Linked DNA regions of Homo sapiens: region 2 is linked to region 1. Evidence: promoter capture Hi-C in 16 types of primary human blood cells and fetal thymus (Javierre and others, 2016). All regions are on one chromosome and are shown on one strand. The core of a region is centred on a gene start or on the middle of the fragment in contact, and the rest is flanking DNA. Distances in the headings are between cores, read along the strand shown.

Region 1 (2,700 bases), core at 63-2,562:
AAAAAAAAAAAAAAGGCCCTCCCCCGCCCCGCCAAGAAATCTCTCAAAACAAGAATTCTTCTGATGTTTTTCTCCTCCCTGCAATTCTCCATGTTACAGTCCTTGGAGGTAGAATAGGCATAAAATACTTTCACTAATAAAATATGACAAACCGCCGGATTATACGTGGCCGATTCCCAGTGATTGCCCTGCTACACAAAGCAGAAAAGTAAATGCCATCATCCCCCTTAGAACAAAAGAACTTAGGAATAAAAAACATGGAGAGGGGGGAGAAAGCAGCAATAAATAAAGGTGAGCGAAGGCCCCCGTCCCCCGCCCCTCCCGGGAGCGAGTGCTGGACTAAGTACTGCTAATAAAGTGGTTCAAGGGTAGTTATTTGGAAAGGGGGCGGGGTGGCGAGGGGAGGGAGCGGGCGAGCGGCGGCCGGGGATTGCATGTTGCATTCGACTTGAGGTTGCATCTTTCTCCTGTTGCCTGGACCACGCTCCCCCATTGCAGTGCTTCCCCATCACTTCTCCTCGCTCCTGCCCCTCACGGCTTTCCCCCCCCCCCTTCAAACTGCTGTTGCACTGGAGGGAGTTGGGGCCGCTCTGGAGCCCCTTTGCAGCTCCCGCCGGCGGGAGGGGGGAGTTGGGCTCGGGCCGCGGAGTTGGGGGGGCCGCCGCGGGCTCCGGCCTCGCCTCGGCTGCGGCTGCACGGGAGCCGAGCTGCGGCGCTGCACGGGCCCCGGAGTTTGGCTGCCTTCGCCGCCGCTCGGTGCTCGGCCCCATCACCGCCGCCGCCGCCGCCGCTGCACTGGAGTTTGGCTGCCGCTGCCCTACTTCACTCTAGTTTAGTTTCACTCACTTTACATCCGGGTTTTTTCCCTAGGCAATGGGTGCCGCAGCACACCCCGTTCCTTAGGCAAAGTGAAATAAATTCGCCGCACCGACACGTCAAGTAGTCCGCCCGCCCGAGCGCCGCCGCGGGCCCCCGTCGCCCCCCCCGCCGACGCCCCACCGCCCCCGGTGGGGGGACCCGAGCGTCCCGGGAGCCGCGGGCCGAGGCGCGGGGGCCCGGGCCGGCCGCCGTACCACTCCGCCCGGCGGCCCCCTCCCTCCCCGCCGCGGCCCGCTCTCCCCCGGCGCCTCCTCTCCCCTCGCCCTCGTCCCCGCTTTCCCAGCCCCAGTCCCTCTCGCCCGGCTCTCGGGAGCGGCGGGGGCGCGCACGGCGGCGGCGGCGGCGGGCCGGCGGGGCCGCGCGGCGGGCTCCCGCGCGGGCGAGTGTGTCTGGGCCTGGGCGGAGGGATCCCCGGGCTGAGGCGGCGGAGGTGCTGCGGCCCGGGGCCGGGTGGTGAATGGGCTGGTGGTGCTCGCTGCTGCTGCTGAGAGGAGGAGGAGGATGAAGAGTTGGGCTTGTTTGTCTCCTACAGTTTCTCTCCTGCTGCTCTGATTCCCCCCTCCCGATTCCGGCCCGGGGCCTGTGTGTGTCCCTCCTGGAGGAGGAGGAGGATCCAGTTCCTCCCCCCAACCCCCTCCTCCCCACCCCCCCTTGCCTGGGGAAGAGGAGGAAAGAAACAGCCCAGAGAGAGAGAGAGAGAGAGAGTGAGTGAGAGAGAGAGGAGAGGAGAGGAGGAGGAGGAGGAGGGAGAAGGGAACAACCTACCATCTTAACACACTAATATCTAAAAAGTGCGAGAGGCCCAGAGCAGCAGCAGAAGCAGCAGCAGCAGCTCCAGCTTCTTCCCTCCCTCCCCATGAAGAAGAGTTCCCTCCTCCTCCTCCTCCTGCTTCTCCTGCTCAGAGTTCCTGCCTCCAGCTGCCAGGGGGGACAGCCAGCCAGCAGCAGGAGGGTGCAGTATCCCAGCTTTTCCATTCTCTCTTCTTCTCACTCTCCTCTCTCTCTTTTTTTCTGGAGTAGCTCTATTTCCCCTCCCTCCCCCTTCCCCCTCTGCCTCTCTCCTCTCTCCCTCTGTCTTGTCGCTGGTGTTTGTCTCTGGGAGGATCAGGGGCTGCCTGCTTGGAGTTTGTTGTGGGGGGAGGTAGGGGGAGGGGAGGGGTGTGTGGGAGGGAGGAGGGAAAGGGGGGTGTTCTCGTCAGGACCCCTCAGTCAACTTGAGATTTGAGCAATAACTTCCCCTTCGGGGCGCCCCCCTGCGTGCCCTTCCCATACCTCCCCCCCGAAAAAAAAGACAATGGGAAAACCTTGGCTCCCCCCCCTCCCCTCTGCCCTCCACCCCTCCCCAGGATAAATTGGAAGTAAGTTTATGAGCAGCCTCGGAAGCCTGGGCGCAGAGTGCAGGGCCGGAGCCGGTGACAGAGGCGGCGTGCCGGGGGCGGCGGGGAGGGGGCGTCACATTGTCCCGGCGGGGGGCCGGCCGGGGGCTGCGGGCGGGGGCGGGGGGCACGGAGCCTCGCCCGCCCCCCCTCGGCTGTCCCTCGGCCGGGGAGGTAGCTGGGGCTCCTCCATCCCCCCCACCCCACCCCGGGATGCTGTCGGGGGGAAGTTTTTATTATGATTATTTATTTAATTAAAAAAAATTTTTTTTTGGAAAACCATCTTGTTTGTTGACTGAGGGATCTGGTTTAAAAAAAAAAAAGCTGCGGCTGCTGACGCTGCCGGGCCCCAGTGTGTGTGTTTGTGTGTGTGTGAGTGTGAGTGTGTTGGTGCATTTGTCTTGGGTGGCCGGAGCAGCGTTGGGGAAATTCCGCTTATTCTTCT
Region 2 (2,700 bases), core at 175-2,674, 280 kb after region 1:
AAGTGCTGGGATTATAGGCATGAGCCATTGCACCCGGCCCAGCTTTTTTAAAACTTAAAATATTAAGCATGTTGTATATTGCTGCATCATTACTTTTGTGTTTTTTTGTGGTTTGTGTTGTCAAGTTGATAAAGATGAACTATTAATACTTCATTGAATAATTGCATATTGCTTCAGTATATTAACAGTGTAACATTCAAGAATCGGGAAGTAGGGTGGGTGCGGTGGCTCACGCCTGTAATCCCAGCACTTTGGGAGGCCGAGGCAGGAGGATCATTTGAGGTCAGGAATTGATTGGCCAACATGGTGAAGCCCCGTCTCTACTAAAAATACAAAAAGTAGCCAGGTGTGGTGGCGCGTGCCTGTAATCCCAGCTACTCAGGAGGCTGAGGCAGCAGAATTACTTGAACCCGGGAGGTGGAGATTACAGTGAACCAAGATCACGCCACCAGACTTCAGTCTGAGTGACGAAGTGAGACTTCGGAAAAAAAAAAAAAAGAATCGGGAAGTAAATCTGACACTAGATAGAATACTAGAGTGCAAAGTCCACTTTGGGTTTTTACACTTTAAAAGGGACACAGAGAAATTGGACAGAGACCAAAGAAACCTGTACATTGCTAAGGAAGTGAAATGTAATGGGGTACTATTGTCTCTTCGAGAGAAATAAAAGCTAATTTTTGATCTCATAATAATGCACTCTAGTGTACACCTTGTAAAAAGTACCTCCAAAGAGTGGTTGTCATGAGGATGCCAAACAACCTAGTTTACACTAGGAAGAGTGAAAGATTGGAGAGACTTAGGATAAGGTGCTTTAAGGATGAGATGAATTAGCCAGGAACTGAGTGGCGTCTTTCTCCCCCGAAGATACTTACGCAGATAGATCAGTCCTGTTTTGTCTCTTTTTGTTAATGTCCTGCATGGAGACTGGATTAGACAACTTTCTACTTTGGCTTTGAACTGCGCTTTGGGTAAATATTTGATGATTGGCTGAAGGTAACCAGGCGCGGCGGGAGGGAAGTCCCCGGCCAGTTTAAGTTATCCGCGCCCTCTAGTGGTAGGACTGGGACAGCGGCGGTTCGGTTTGCGGCTGGGCGGGGAACACCAGGACCAATCCAGGGTGCAGAGGTGGCATGCCTGTTCCCAAGGCTTCACGCAAAAGCCTATTTTGATGTAGTGACGTAAAATGTTTGTTCTTGGAACTGTTAAGCTTGAGAAGCAGTAAAGCTTATTGAGAGCACAGACCGTAAAACTAAACTCCCTGGGTTCCATTTCCAGATCTGACATTAACTAGCAAATTACTTAATTGGGCGAGCTAATTAACCTCTCTGTGCCTTAGTTTCCTCATTTGTAAAATGGGGATGATGATACTTATAATAAAAGTACAATATGAAATTAGGGAAAGGTCAATAGACTAATAAGTCAGAATTGAGAATCCAGAAACAGGTCCACATGAATCTGGACATTTTATTCACGACAAAGATGTCTCCGTAAAGAAGTGGGGAAAGTAATGGGTCAATCAGGTATTCCATTGTAAAAAAGTGAAACTTGACTCCATCTCACAACATACAAATCAATTCCAGATAGATTATATGCTTAATGTGAGGGGTAAAACGATAAAGCTTTAAGAAGATTGTATTGGAGAATATCTTCGCAACCTTGGGGGAAGACAAACATTTCTTGAAAAAGACATGAAAAGCACTAACCATTAAAGAAAATGTTGATGAGTTGGACTGTGTTAAAATTAGGAACTGTTAATCAAAAAACATTATTCGGAGAGTGAAAAGGCAAACCATAGAATGAGAAAAGATACTTACATAATATTTATAATTCTTAAAGAGCTCAAATCCAGAATATGTCAACAGCCCTTAGAAATCATAATAATAAAAAAAGATAGGCAATCCAATTTGAAACTAGGCCAGAGACTTGAATAGGCACTTTCTGTAGAGTCCTAATTAGGCAAAAGGAGTCAGACTGGTGGGATTGAAGGAAAGCAAAAAGAAAAAGCAGATAAACTGTAAGTCTACCTTTCTTTGTGGCCCAGGACACATAGCCCTCCTGTGCAAATAACTCACAATCTTCCTGTGCCCAGCTATCACCAGTCCCTTGGCTGATAGCTGACTGCAACCTTGGCATTATCAGCACTGCACAAAGCCCTCTTCAGTACACAGCACAAGCACCATCCTATAAAATCCCCAGCAAGCCTTTGTCTCTTTGTAGTCAGCTCCTCTCTTGCTGACCTGCCCATTGTACCCTTGCAATGTCTTTTCATACTTTCTCTAATAAATCTGCCTTTCTTTACCTACAACTGTCCTCGTAAATTCTTTTTACTGCCTGCACAACACTGGCCCCAGATAGTGGCTACCTGCGACACTTTCCACACACCCCCGCCCCAAAGGATGGATATTTAAGTGGGCAATGAACACATGAAAAGGTACTCACCTTCATTAGCTCATTAGGGAGCTACAAATTAAAACCACAATGAGGTACCACTATAGGCCCGCAAGAATGAATAAAGTTAAAAGGATTGATAAAACCAAGTGTTTGGGAGGATGTGAGCAATTAAAATACACTGCTGTTGGGAGTGTAAATTGATACAACCACTTTAAAAAAGTGTCTGTTATATATTAAATTCGAAAAGCCAAATACCTTACAAATCATGAACGATATATTCTATGACCCAGCAGTTTCACTCCTAGCATA

Evidence for each region. Contacts are between HindIII fragments. The CHiCAGO score rates a contact against its expected background, and 5 or more counts as called.
Region 2: a fragment that was not itself captured here is called in contact with the fragment with the promoter of PHF21A in region 1 in 1 of 17 cell types (total B cells); the score reaches 5.7 in total B cells.

Annotation. Positions count from the first base shown.
Region 1 is chr11:46,120,066-46,122,765 of GRCh38, reverse strand. PHF21A (PHD finger protein 21A) reads left to right here and starts at 1,312. Exons shown (of 19, transcript NM_001352027.3): 1 at 1,312-1,831. It overlaps LOC105376661 (a long non-coding RNA gene), which reads right to left and starts at 621. Exons shown (of 3, transcript XR_931252.4): 1 at 1-621. RefSeq lists silencers at 480-789, 1,230-1,289. The HindIII fragment of the contact is 5,748 bases long and covers 1-2,700 here.
Region 2 is chr11:45,841,653-45,844,352 of GRCh38, reverse strand. No RefSeq gene overlaps it. Among named protein-coding and RNA genes, the nearest start is that of CRY2, 4.5 kb to the left of the region's middle. The HindIII fragment of the contact is 395 bases long and covers 1,227-1,621 here.